3 separate regions of the Homo sapiens genome follow, and regions 2 and 3 are each linked to region 1. Evidence: promoter capture Hi-C in human tissues and cell types (Jung and others, 2019). All regions are on one chromosome and are shown on one strand. The core of a region is centred on a gene start or on the middle of the fragment in contact, and the rest is flanking DNA. Distances in the headings are between cores, read along the strand shown.

Evidence for each region. The method cuts DNA at HindIII sites, captures the fragments that hold promoters and counts their contacts. A contact is called where the count stands out against the background at its distance.
Region 2: a contact is called between the fragment with the promoter of OASL here and the fragment with the promoter of UNC119B in region 1, in 1 of the 25 tissues and cell types used here (IMR-90 fibroblasts).
Region 3: a contact is called between a fragment that was not itself captured here and the fragment with the promoter of UNC119B in region 1, in 1 of the 25 tissues and cell types used here (dorsolateral prefrontal cortex).

What each region holds. Positions count from the first base shown.
Region 1 is chr12:120,708,264-120,712,775 of GRCh38, forward strand. UNC119B (unc-119 lipid binding chaperone B) reads left to right here and starts at 2,195. Exons shown (of 5, transcript NM_001080533.3): 1 at 2,195-2,455. The coding sequence starts at 2,212. LOC124903036 (a long non-coding RNA gene) reads right to left here and starts at 2,243. Exons shown (of 2, transcript XR_007063491.1): 1 at 2,174-2,243; 2 at 1,670-2,011. RefSeq lists silencers at 2,085-2,144, 2,235-2,504 and an enhancer at 2,112-2,954. The HindIII fragment of the contact is 6,851 bases long and covers 1-3,454 here.
Region 2 is chr12:121,036,566-121,040,937 of GRCh38, forward strand. OASL (2'-5'-oligoadenylate synthetase like) reads right to left here and starts at 2,681. Exons shown (of 6, transcript NM_003733.4): 1 at 2,209-2,681. The coding sequence starts at 2,406. RefSeq lists enhancers at 1,845-2,346, 2,347-2,846, 2,426-2,845. The HindIII fragment of the contact is 11,669 bases long and covers 1-2,753 here.
Region 3 is chr12:121,143,470-121,147,652 of GRCh38, forward strand. All of the region lies in intron 1 of P2RX7 (purinergic receptor P2X 7), which reads left to right. The region is part of intron 2 of LOC105370032 (a long non-coding RNA gene); the gene reads right to left. Among named protein-coding and RNA genes, the nearest start is that of P2RX7, 13 kb to the left of the region's middle. RefSeq lists an enhancer at 378-527. The HindIII fragment of the contact is 3,708 bases long and covers 869-4,183 here.

The DNA of each region.
Region 1 (4,512 bases), core at 945-3,444:
AATTTGTCAATATTACAAATCTCTGTGCATGCAGGTAGGGTAAATTCCTAGATGTGGAATTGCAGGTGAAGAGGTTACATTTGCCATCATCCCTAGAAAGAGAAAAGCCATGGTCCAGGTAACTAGTCTTGGTGCTATGAGAACAAACCTTCCGTAAATAAGTATATGGGAAATGACCACATGCTAAACCACCCTCTTGGCCATTCACAATCAAGTAGCATATTAAAAGTTCTGGAAATTCTTCAGTAACCACTCTGTTGAGTGGTTTAAAAAGAGTTGTTTGTAAAAGGAAAGACTTTAATTCTTTGTACACATTTATTAAAATCTCCCTGAACAGTTAGTTAAATGCCACCATATACTAATCTCTCAAAGACAGTACAGCATTTGGGTAGGAATTTGGCCACACACTATGCCACCCAATTGGGCAGCTGGGGTGGGGTCAGGTTTGGACTTTGTCCAGGAACCAAGAGATGCCTGTCTTGGTGGCTTTGGTGAGAGGGACTCAGCAAGCAAGGCCTGGCAAGAACGTCAAGAGGCTCTGGGGGACGGTTGCAATTTTACTCTAGCCTGGCTGAGAGGTGATGTCAGACCTAGCAGACACACTGCATCAATCAGGCCCAGGCCTCCAACACAGAACAGTGCAGATCTAGAATCCCTAGAGAAGGAGCCCCTCAGGGTGGAAGACGGTAGACCACATCCCCCTGTTGACCCACTTCTGGCTAATTGGTGAGGTCATGGCTAACTTCCAAAGCTCAGTGCAGATATTGCCTCTGAAAACTTCCGAAGCCCTCAAGCTTTTACAGCCAGGTCAGAATAAACCACTCCTGTGTGTTCTCCTAGCACCTTTGCTGCATCTCTTAGTGCAGTCAGTGAATCTAGTTTGTCTTCCAGTTCATACTAACCTACCTTGTGAAAAGGAAGGGTCACATAATGAATTGTGTACTTTACAGTCTTCTCTAACAAAAGTGGGAGCTCTTCCATAGTGGGATACTGTTCAGGCTCTCATTCAATCATTACTGAGCACCTACCACGTGTCAGGCATTAGCTGAACTGCTGGGAATTCAGGGGTGAGGCAGACCCAATCCCTGCCCTCACTCTTACATCTCCTGTAGCCTAGCCCAATGTCTAGCCCAGGGCCTGGCACAGTAGGGCTTACGGATGGCAATCTCATTGGAAAGTTTGTCTTGAAACTGCCTTTGCAAAACAAACACTGCTTTAACTTACCTTCTATGCTAAATATATTAATAAACATTTTCTCAAGATGCATTGTCCACTAATAGCTTAGTGTTGAAGAACAGGCCTTGGGTCAGATGGACCTGGATTAAAATCCCTGTTCCCTCCTCTTACTGCTTGAGGGACTTTGGACATGTTACCTGACTTCTCTGAACTTGAGCTTCCTGATCTGTAAAATGGAGACAGTAATACCTCACAGGGTTGTTGTGAGGTGAGGAGCCTGCCCTATAGCAAGTGTCCTGCCATATAGCAAGTGCGCAGTAAACACTGGCCATTCTTCTTCTTGGTGTGATTACTGGGAATTAGTTGCCATTGTGCTGTTGGGACTGGTGACAGAACTCTTGGATTGAGAATGCCGAGATGGTGCACGGAAGATTCTGTGTGCTCTTTCAGACCAGGAGGAGGATGAGGAGGAGGAAAGTTTATATGACGTAAATTCATTTGACCGTAAGATATGTATTTAAACATCGTGGAGGATCTTGGGGGTCTGATGGGGAGTGGGGTTGCTGAAGCTCCAGCCACCCCTAGGCCCTCCACCTGGCAGGACCAAAGTTGGGGCAGTAGCCGAAGCACCGCCCCCCGGGCCCCGCAGGAGTGTGCAGTCACCCAGTTAGGCCTATCTTGGCCTGCCCATCACTCCTGGCCTGCGGTCTCCTAACCCTGTGGCAGCAGCAGCATTCCCTGAATGGATCGAAGGCTGCCATGGTGTCGTCCGCTGAATTGCTATAGGAGTCAGCCCAGGGCTGCTCATGTGCACCTCAGGTTGCTGATGGCAGCTCTAGTTATTTGGGGATGGAAGTTTGGGGAGAGTGGGCCTTGGTCCACCCTGTGCGAAAGGGAATTCCACAGCCCCCCGGGCGCCCGCCCCCGCCCCCGCCCCGCCCCCTCCCCGCCCCTTCCCCGCCGGGCCCCGGGCCCCGCCCCCGCTCTCCATAGTTACCGCGCTGTGGAGGCGGCGGCCATCTTGGCGGCGGAGCGATGAGCGGGTCTAACCCGAAGGCTGCGGCCGCGGCGTCGGCGGCTGGGCCCGGGGGGCTGGTGGCTGGCAAGGAGGAGAAGAAGAAGGCGGGCGGCGGCGTCCTGAACCGCCTGAAGGCGCGGCGGCAGGCGCCCCACCACGCGGCCGACGACGGCGTCGGGGCAGCGGTCACGGAGCAGGAGCTGCTGGCGCTGGACACCATCCGGCCCGAGCACGTCCTGCGCCTCAGCCGGGTCACCGAGAGTGAGTGCCGCGCGGGCCGCGCCCTCCCCTCGCGCCGTGCCCCGGCTCCCGGAGCCTTCAGCGGACCCGGCCACTTGACCAGCGCGGGGGTCCCCGCCAGACCCCCTCGGCCGGCCGGGCCGCGCTTCCCGCTGCCCCGCCGGCCGGGCTTTGCTCCCGCCACGCTCACGTAGCTCTGGTGGGGAAGGACTCTCCTGGGCTGGACCGCATTCCTGTGAGTCCGGCCACGCTAGGATGCCCTTCGGCCGGTCGGCTCCCCAGCTCTGCCGGACCTGTTTGGGTAGAGGGCCCCGTTCAGCTGAACTGGATCCTCCTGAGCCGGCCGGGGGCCGAGGTCCCCTAATAAATGGGCCCCTGGGCCCTCAGCCTGGAACCCCCGGCCATCAGTGAAGTTCCCGCTCAGCCAGGCTCCCCCAGCCCTCTGGCAGGCCAGAAGCCTTACCTGCTTCCTCCGCCCTGGCCCCATGGCAGCCCTCCCCCATTGCAGCCTGCCCGGCCTCCCTCCCTCTTTGGGTCGGGAGCGTTGCCCCTTAGTGTGCAGATGGGTTCTTCCTCAAAACACATAGCCGTGGCATTTCCTGCTCATTTAAAACTGTGCCACATTAAAACAAAAATAAAGTTTCAGTTTGTGTACAGACTCCGACATGTGAATCCTGCTTTTGACATTCTCGTGAATTAAGAATGATTTCAGAGTTTCAGAAATGCGTTTCCTGCACAAAAGGCAACCATCCTAAGCTTTTTCGTTGATAGGAGGATGGGTGGGAAGAAAAATGTTGCCCAGTCCCTGCCCTGGGTGATCTCCCTTTTTCTGTTCTCTGCCAAGCCAGTCCCTGACTTGACGTCTTTTCTCTTGCTGCTGTTTTCCCTGCAGGAGTGTGCACTCACCTAGTTAGGCCTATCTTGGCCTGCCCATCACTCCTGGCGTGCAGTCTCCTAACCCTGTGGCAGCAGCAACATTCCCTGGATGGATCGAAGGCTGCCATGGTGTCTGCTGAGCTGCTATAGCAGGCAGCCCAGGGCTGTTCAGGTGCACCTCAGGTTGCCGATTGCAGCTCTAGTAATTTGGGGATGGAAATTTGGGGGGAGTAGGCCTTGGTCCACCCTGTGCGAAAGGGAATTCCCATTTCCTAAAAGAGTTTTAATTTGATTCTAGATATTTGGATGCCCCCGTTTCCCAATACTGTTTGGGTTGAGACTGTCCTTACCAGACCTGAACGTATCTTTAGACATTCTTGTTAGTTTTATTGAAACAGTGTGAAAAAGCTTCTTTTCTTCTGAACCAGTTTTCATTTGGGGCTCTGAAAGTACAGATGCTCAGCACCTGGTCTTGGTAACCTCATGCCCTCTCCTGCCATCCAAGTGAGTTAGGGTATTCTGTGCCTGGCCCTAAGCAGGATTCTCAGTGGGCACTCAGATCCTATCTGGGGGCTTGGGATTGTTGCTCATTGTCCAAACCCACCTCTGCAGCTTCTTAGAGTCTGGCAACCTCTTTGTTACTCTTCTTAACGTCTCGTTCATTCTATCCAGCAGATTATTTGAGTACCCTCTAAGAGTCCAAAGCCAATGTTAGCCTTTTTAGCAGTTACAGAATAATCAGTAGTTGTCAAGTTTGTCGTCTTAATAAAGAGACAACTTGTAAAACACGAAAACAACTAACTCAGGCAATAAAAGATCAAGTATCAAAATGAGCTGTGGAGAAGATGCTATCCGGAATCATCCTAGAAAGAAATCAGTGAAATTTGCTGTGATTAGAATTATTTCAATTTGCGGCTCATGTTCTAGTCACTTGGGCCTAATGTCTTCACCGGCAGATTTATCCTCTTGCCTGGATATGTATGATATGTATTGTCTACTGTATGATTTTGTGTAGCCCACAAACTAAGATTAGGTTTGTACATTTTTAAATGGTTGAAAAAAACTTTAAAATCTTGAGACACGTGGTTATGTAAAATTCATATTTCAGTGTCCATAAATACAGTTTTACTGGAATATAGCCACATTCATTCATTTGCGTATTGTCTGTGGATGCTTTTGTGGCTACAATGATAGAGTTGAGT
Region 2 (4,372 bases), core at 1,431-3,930, 330 kb after region 1:
TTGAGGTCAGGAGTTCGAGACCAGCCTGGCCAACATGATGGAACCCCGTCTCTACTAAAAATGCAAAGATTAGCCAGGCGTGGTGGAACACACACACACACAATAAACTTATTCTTGTAGCATCCTCCTCTTACCAGACATTCCTTATTCCCTCCACTTTATTCTCAAGTTTGTTGGGGAGGGGGTGGTCTAGGAGGGTCTGCCAGAGTCAGACTTGAGTCCCAGGCCCAGAAGAAAGCTTGGCAAGAATTATAATGATGCTTCTGTTTCTGAGCATTTATCGTGCATGAATCATTCAGCCTGCATTGCACCACTGGCTTGGTGAGGGAGAGATGATGATGATGCCCCAATCACAGATGAAAAGAATGTGGGTTTGAGAAAGAAGAGTGGGAAGGTCAAAACCACACAGCTGGTAAAGGAAGAAGCGAAGAGTCTGTCTAATATCAAAATTTGTGGTTTCTCACTTATAAATTGTATGGCCTCAGGCTTCATATGCTGGGGATAGGTGCAAAGAACGGATAGGGGCCCAGGGCTTCTAGATCCCTCTGTGAGTTGGTTGCCCCTAGAGAGAGAACTTGAGCACTGGGCTGGGAGTCAGGGGTCCTAATTCTAGTCTTGCCTTTGCCACCAACTCGCTGTGTGACCTTGGGGTATCTCTCACCCTCTCTGTGCCTCGGTTTACTTAATTTTTTAAGTGAGTCATTGGTGAGACTGTCTGATTCTCCAAAGTCTTTCTAGCTCCGACCCTCTTGAATTTTGATCTTAGCTAGCACAGGCGGTGGCATGAAACAGCTGGAGGAAGGGCTTGGGGGAAAATCTCAGTGAGGGGGGCTTGGGTCCCTTGAGTCAAGTTCAAATCCCAGCTTCAACACTGTGTGACCTTGGGCAAGTCACCTCACCTCTCTGAGCCTCCATTAAAAAATCATTTTAGGCCGAGTGCAGTGGCTCACTGTAATCCCAGCACTTTGGGAGGCCGAGGAGGGCAGATCATGAGGTCAGGAGATCGAGACCATCCTAGCCAACACGGTGAAACCCTGTCTCTACTAAAATACAAAAAATTAGCCGGGCGTGGTGGTGGGCGCTGTCGTCCCAGCTACTTGGGAGGCTGAGGCAGGGGAATTGCTTGAACCTGGGAGGCAGAGGTTGCAGTGAGCTGAGATCGTGCCACTGCACTCCAGCCTGGTGACAGAGCAAGACTCTGTCTCAAAAAAAAAAAAACAAAAACAAAAATCATTTTATTGGCCGGCCAGACATGGTGGCTCACACCTGTAATCCCAGCACTTTGGGAGGCCAAGGTGGGCATATTCTTGATCCCAGGAGTTCGAGACCAGCATGGGCAACATTGGTGAAACCCTATCTCTACAAAAAATACAAAAATTAGCTGAGCATGGTGGTGCATGCCTGTAATCCCAAGCTATTTAGGAGGCTGAGGATCACCTGAGCTCAGGGAGATTGAGGCTACAGTGAGTGGTGATTGTGCCACTGCACTCCAGCCTGGGTGACAGAGCGAGACCCTGTCTCTAAAAAAAAAAAAAGTCATTTTATTATCAAAAAGTTAAAACACATAGAAAAATAGATGATACAACTAACACTCATATACCCAACTAGTTGATTCAACAAGTCTAAATTCCTGGCTACATGTGCTTAATCTAAGCCACGTTAAAGTAAATTATAGGCACCAAGGAACTTTGTCCCTAAAATACTTCAGTGTTCGTGTCCAAACAAAAGACAACCTTCTGATAACCACAAAACTACTGTTACACCTAACAAAATCAACAATGATTTCCCATATCAGATATATGTACTATCTGATATCTAGGCCAGTTGTCCCCAAACTATATTTTACAGATGGTTCATTCACACTAGGATCCAACCAAGGACCTCGCATTGTATTGGTTCTGAGCCTCCATTTGCTAATCTGTAAACTGGGCAAAGAATAGTACCTATCTCACAGAGTGCAAGAATTAGAGATAGTGTATGTTAAGAGGTTAGTCCAGTGAGCCCCCAAATGTGAGCTATTATTACTAGACTCATTCTACTCAAGGCAGTGGTGCAGTGGGGTGTAGACAGCTAGGTGGGATGGGGTATTCTGAGATGTCATCAGCATGGGCTAGGGATAAGGAGGACAGGGGTCCCCAGCATCCCCAGGGACGTGGACTCTGATACTGGGTTTTGTCTTGCGTGGGGGCTGGAGGAGCCCAGTCTTACCTTGACTACCTTCAGCACCCGCACATCCTGGTCCAGCCCACGCTTCCCCTGGAAATGCTCCTGCCTCAGAAACTCCTCCACGGTCCGCACAGCGTCTAGCACCTCTTCCTTCCACTCCCGGTGGGGCTGCAGCCACTGAGCCACGAAGGAGTCCAGCCTGGAGGCTGGTGTGCTATACAGTTCCTGCATCAGTGCCATCTCTGTCCCGAGAGTACCGCTGCTGGGCAGATATATAGCCAGGCTCCTACCCAGCTCCCTGGCACACACCTCCTTTTTTAAGGTAGCTCCTCCTCAGCTGCCCTCCAGTGCTCTGTGGGAGGAGGGACCCTAGCAGAGAGGAAACCAGGTGTGACGGGCTGACTCCAGGTCCCCCTTCTTGGAGACACCCTTGCTGCAGTAGGGGCACAGGAGGACTCTGGGCTGAGGCTGGAATATCTGGGGCCACCTTAACAGGCTGGCCGTCTAGTCAATCTGTCATCAGTTTCGATTCTCAACTTTTAGAGTTCTCCTTTATGACGTTGGGAAACTGAAGTTGGATAGTGTTTGACCCCAAAGGAGGCAACTTGCCCAGTAGGTTGGGGTTGGATAGTTGTTAGTCAATTCAACTGCTTACATCTGTCTAAGGAAATTGAGGCTTGGGAACGGAAGGGACTCACTAGTGTTCAGGTGGTGGAGTGAGAATCTGGAGCCCAAGAGAACAGACTGGGAATTCTAGTCTACCTGTGCCAGACTCTAACCTCTTTGACCCTCACTATTCATAGAGTGGGTTTTTTTGTTTTTTTGTTTTTTTTTTTTTTTGGCCGGGTCTTGCTCTGTTGCCCAGGCTGGAGTGCAGTGGTGCAATCTCAGCTCACTACAACCTCTGCCTCACGGGTTCAAGCGATTCTCCTGCCTCAGCCTCCCTAGTAGCTGGGACTACAGACATGTGCCACCACGCCCGGCTAATTTTTTTTTTGTATTTTTAGTAGAGACGGGGGTCTCACCATTTTGGTCAGGCTGGTCTCAAACTCCTGACCTCAAATGATCCGCCCACCTCGGCCTCCCACAGTGCTAGGATTACAGCGTGAGCCACCGCGCCCGGCCCATAGAGTGGGTTTAACAGGTATTATGATTCACGCACTGAACCAAGAAGTTCATGCATTGAGCCAAGAAGACAAAATAAGATGAGGTTCCTGTTCCAAGGGGACTCCCAGAACGGTGGAGGAGACACAGAAAAAAGAGACTGCAAAAGTCCAGTGCGATGAGTTAAGTAGGAAAAAAGCATGAAAACATGAAGCCGGCAGATGAGTTTCATTTGGTGTTAGCAGACACCTGCTTGAGAGGAATCTTAAAGACTGGGGATCCGGGCTGGGCATGGTGGCTCATGCTTGTAGTCCCAGCACTTTGGGAGGCCAAGGTGAGAGGATCACTTGAGGCCAGGAGTTCAAGACCAGCCTGGGCAACATAGCTGGACACCTGCAACTTCCCAAACTCTGAATAATATTAAGTGCTCCAGGGCTTAGTCCTGGGTCCTTTTCTCTTCTTGTTCTAGACTTACTCCCTTGGTGATTTCAGCCAGCGTTTAAATGTTTTTACTCTGGCAACTTCCACATTTTAATTTTATTTTTATTTATTTGTTTATTTTTGAGATGGAGTCTCACTGTCTCGCCCAGGCTGGAGTTCAGTGACACAATCTCGGCTCACTGCAACCTCTGCCTCCCAGGTTCAGGCGATTCTTGTGCCTCAGCCTCCCAAGGAGCTGGGATTACAGGAGCCCGCCACCGCGCCTGGCTAACTTTTTGTATTTTTAGTAGGGACAGTGTTTCACCATGTTGCCCAGGCTGGTCTTGAACTCCTGATCTGCCCTCCTCGGCCTCCCAAAGTGCTGGGATTACAGGCGTGAGCCACCATACCCAGTGACTCCCACATTTGTATCTTAAATCCATACCTCTTCCCTGAAATCCAGACTCATGTATCCAACTCCCCACTCCACATTGGCTTTGAATTCCGGTCTGCCCTTTGCCACACTTGTAACTTCTCTGCTTCTGTGGTGAGGATGATTGCAAGGGCAAGAACAGATGTAGGGAGATGGTCAGGACACTGCACAGTGGTGCAGGTGAGAGGCAGTGGTGGCCTGGAGTTTAAAACTCCAGTTTTTGTTTTAAAAACAAAAAGTTTTTTAAAA
Region 3 (4,183 bases), core at 1,473-3,972, 440 kb after region 1:
CTTGATCCTGGGAGGTTGAGGCTGCAGTGAGCTGTGTTTGTGCCACTGCACTCCAGCCTGGGCGACAGAGTGAGACCCTATCTGAAAAAAAAAAAATCGGCCAGGCGCGGTGGCTCACGTCTGTAATCCCAGAACTCTGGGAGACTGAGGTGGGTGGATCACCTGAGGTCAGGAGTTCGAGACCAGCCTGACCAACAGGGTGAAACCCCGTCTCTACTAAAAATACAAAAATTAGCTGGGCATGGTGGCAGGCACCTATATAATCCCAGCTACTCGGGAGGCTGAGGCAGGAGAATCGCTTGAACTCAGGAGGCAGAGGTTGCAGTGAGCCGAGGTCATGGCATTGCACTCCAGCCTGGTGGCAGAGTGAGACTCCGTCTCAAAAAAAAGAAAGTCTCTTTTTACAACTTTTTTGAGGTATAACTTACATATCAGAAAATCACCGGTTTTAAATATACATTTCAATGACTTTTAGTAAATTTCCCAAGTTGTGCAACCATCATCACAATCCAGTTTCAGAACATTTCATCAGCCCAGTAAGAGCCCTCACACCCATTAACAGTCACTCCCCACTCCCACTTCCTCCTGGTGGTTGCTCAACCCAGGTAACCATGAATCTATTCTCTGCCTCTGGAGATTTGTCTTTTCTGGACAATCTTTCTTCTTAAACTCAGCAGAGTGAGTTCTGTTGTTTAGAACTAGAAACCCTGCCCAATAGAATACTAATATCCTCTTGTTTTGCAAGGGAGTTAGAGTCTCGCTCTGTCGCCCAGGCTGGAGTGCAGTGGTATGATCTCGCCTCACTTCGACCTCTACCTTCCGGATTCAAGCGATTCTCCTACCTCAGCTTCCTGAGTAGCTGGGATTACAGACGTGCACCAACACACCTGGCTAATTTTTGTACTTTTAGTAGAGATGGGGTCTCACCATGTTGGCCAAGCTGGTCTTGAACTCCTGACTTCAAATGGGCCACCCGCCTTGGCCTCCCAAAGTTCTGGGATTACAGGCATGAGCCACTGCACCCAGCCCTAATATCCTCTTATTACAAAAGAAGAAACAATGACTCAGAAAGATTAAGTCACTTACCCAAGGTCATGTAGTCAGTAAGCAATAGAGCTGAGACTGAACCTCACTCCAAAGTCTATGCTCTCACTAAAGTATTGCAGTGTAGAGAGTAGAGGGGACAGGGTGAGACTGGAGGAAGGGAGGGCATTTAGGAGACTATTGGGATGTCCAGATCTGAGAGCTGTTGGCGACCTGGACTGGGGAGGTGATAGAGGCAGAGGAGAGAAGTAGATGAATTTGAGCATATTAGGAAGTGAAACAGTAGGATTTGGCAACTGAACGGGTGAGTGGACAAGAAGGAGAGGATGAGTCAAAGAGTGCACCATGCTTCTGGCTTGGGCAACTGATGGGTACTGGAATAACTTGCTGGGATAGGAAATGCAGGAGAAACAGCCAATTTGGGGTGGAAGATGAGGTCAGGACTAAAGGCATTGAGTTTGAGGTGTCTATGGAATGTACAAATGGAGATGTTGAATGGATGGTTGGATATACGAATCTGCAGCTGAGATGTAGGTTTCTATATCACCAGCATATAGACGGCAACCAGAACCCTGGAAGAAGGTGCAACCGACCAGCAAGAGAAGATGTAGATGAGAAAGCAAAAGGGCCTAGAACACGCCCCAAAGGAGTGCTAACCTTTAAGGCGTGGGAGCGCAGAAGTCCCCAAAAGATTCTGAGGAGTAGCCACGGCGATCCAGTGAAAGTCAGGCACAAGTGGACTCCTGCAAGCTAAGGGAAGGAGGCGAGGGAAGTGGGGCATGGTCACAGTCAGTGTCAACTGCTGCTGAGAGTTCCAGGAAGGTCAGGTCCATGGTGTATCTATTGGATTTAGTGACAACGACATTGTTGTTTACTTGGCAAGAGAGGCTTTAGAGAAGGGATGGGGGTGGGAGCCAGACTAGAGTGGGTAGAGGAGTGAGTGAATCAAGATGCGGAAGTGGATGTGATGACTCGCCCTTTCTTTCTTCTTTCTTTCTTTTTTTTTTTTTTGAGATGCAGTCTTCCTCTGTCGCCCAGGCTGGAGTGCGATGGTGTGATCTCCACTCACCACAACCTCTGCCTCCTGGGTTCAAGTGATTCTCCTGCCTCAGCCTTCCAAGTAGCTGGGATTACAGGCATGTGCCACCACACCCGCCTAATTTTTTGTATTTTTAGTAGAGACGGGGTTTCACCATGTTGGCCAGGCTGGTCTCAAACTCCTGACCTCTTGATCCACCTGCCTCAGCCTCCCAAAGTGCTGGGATTACAGGCGTGAGCCACCGTACCCGGCCTGGTGACTCACTCTTTCAAGGGACTCAGCTATAAAGAAGAGAGGCATGGAGTGGTGGTAGGATGGATTAAGCTGGGGAGGGGAGGCATTTTTAAGATGAGAAATGATGTTTAAATGCAGATGGAAATGGGACAGGAGAGAAACGGAAGTTGATGGGATAAATGAAAATTATCATCATCATCTTCCTCACCATCACCAGCAGCAACCACAAGGAAAGCTCGTTCTGCTCTGGGACTGCCCTGTTAGACATTTCTTCCTTATACTGAGCCACAATCTATCTCCCTGTAACTTTCGCCTTTGGTTAGAGTTCTGCCTTGTGTCCCTCTTCTACTCTTCAAATGGCTGCACGCTGCTACTATGTCTGTCCTCTTCTTCAAACTCACAGCCCCCATCCTACGGGCCCTGTGCTCCCAGCCTGGTGACCCGACCCTCTACTGTCCCAGCCAAGTTCACATGACCATCCTCTTATTTGTCAAGCCTCTCTTTTTTTTTTTTTTTTTTTTTTTTTTTTTGAGGAGTCTTACTCTGTCCCAGGCTGGAGGGCATGGCACAATCTCAGCTCACTGCAACCTCTGCCTCCTGGTTTCAAGTGATTCTCCTGCCTCAGCCTCCTGAATGCTGGGATTACAGGCATACATCGCCATGCCTGGTTAATTTTTGTATTTTTAGTAGAGACGGGGTTTCACCATGTTGGCCAGGCTGGTCTTGAACTCCTGACCTCCAGTGATCCCCCTGCCTCAGCTTCCCAAAGTGCTGGGATTACAGCGTGAGCCACTGAGCCGGGCCAAGCCCCTCTGAAGAGGCAGTGTGCACACTCTTGCTTTGCTGATAGAAGCATGAAATGGTTCAAGTTTTTGTGATTTGGGAAAATGAACTCAGCTATAAAATGTGCACACCCAGAAGTTGTCCTATGGACTTAATGTCTTAGGGGTGAGAAGAAGCTTGTGCAGGGATTCCTGGCAACATGAATGCGGGATGGACAGACAGTGAGCACAGTGTTGAGGAGCACAGCCTGAGTGCATCTCCCTGAGATCAGGAACAGGACAAGGATGCCCGCTTTCACCGCTGCTGTTCGACATTGTACTGGAAGTTCTAGCCAGAGCAATTAGGCAAGAAAAAGCAATAAAAGGCATCCAGATTGTAAAGGATGAAGTAAAACTATCTTTAGTCACAGGTGGCACAATCCCATATAGGGAGAATCCCAAAGAATTCACAAGAAAACTGTTAGAGCAAATAAACTAATTCAGTCAAGTTGCAAGGAACAAGATCAACCACAAAAATTAATTGTGTGGGTTTTTTTTACACCAGCAATGAACATTTGAAAAGGAAATTCGAAAAAGTATTCCATTCACTGTAGCATTTAAGAAAGCTGAGGCTGTGAAGCTACATGGCTGTGTTTGGAGCTGGTGCTGCTATTTACCATGTGACCTTGGACAAGCTTCTCACTTCATTCATGACACCGTTTATTCAGCTATTAAGTGGGGGTAATAATAGTACCTTCCTTATAGAGTTGGTTTTTTGTTTTTGTTTTTGTTTTTGGTGGGGGAGAGTAAGGATTGCAAGAGTTAATATATGTTAGCAAAATGGACTTAGAAGAGTGGTTGGCACATGGTAAGGACTATATTAGGGTTACCAAAAAATGTTTATAATTGGGAAAATTGAACAAAGGTTCCAGTAAATATCCATCCCAGAGGCTGGTTGACAAATTATCACAATGTACCTTTTAGCTTGAACCATATGGAACTGCCTATATTCTATAGCTATGGCCTACAAAATGCAAAATGGGCAGTTTTTTTTGTTGTTGTTTGTTTGTTTGTTTGTTTGTCTTGAGACAGTCTCAGTCTGTCA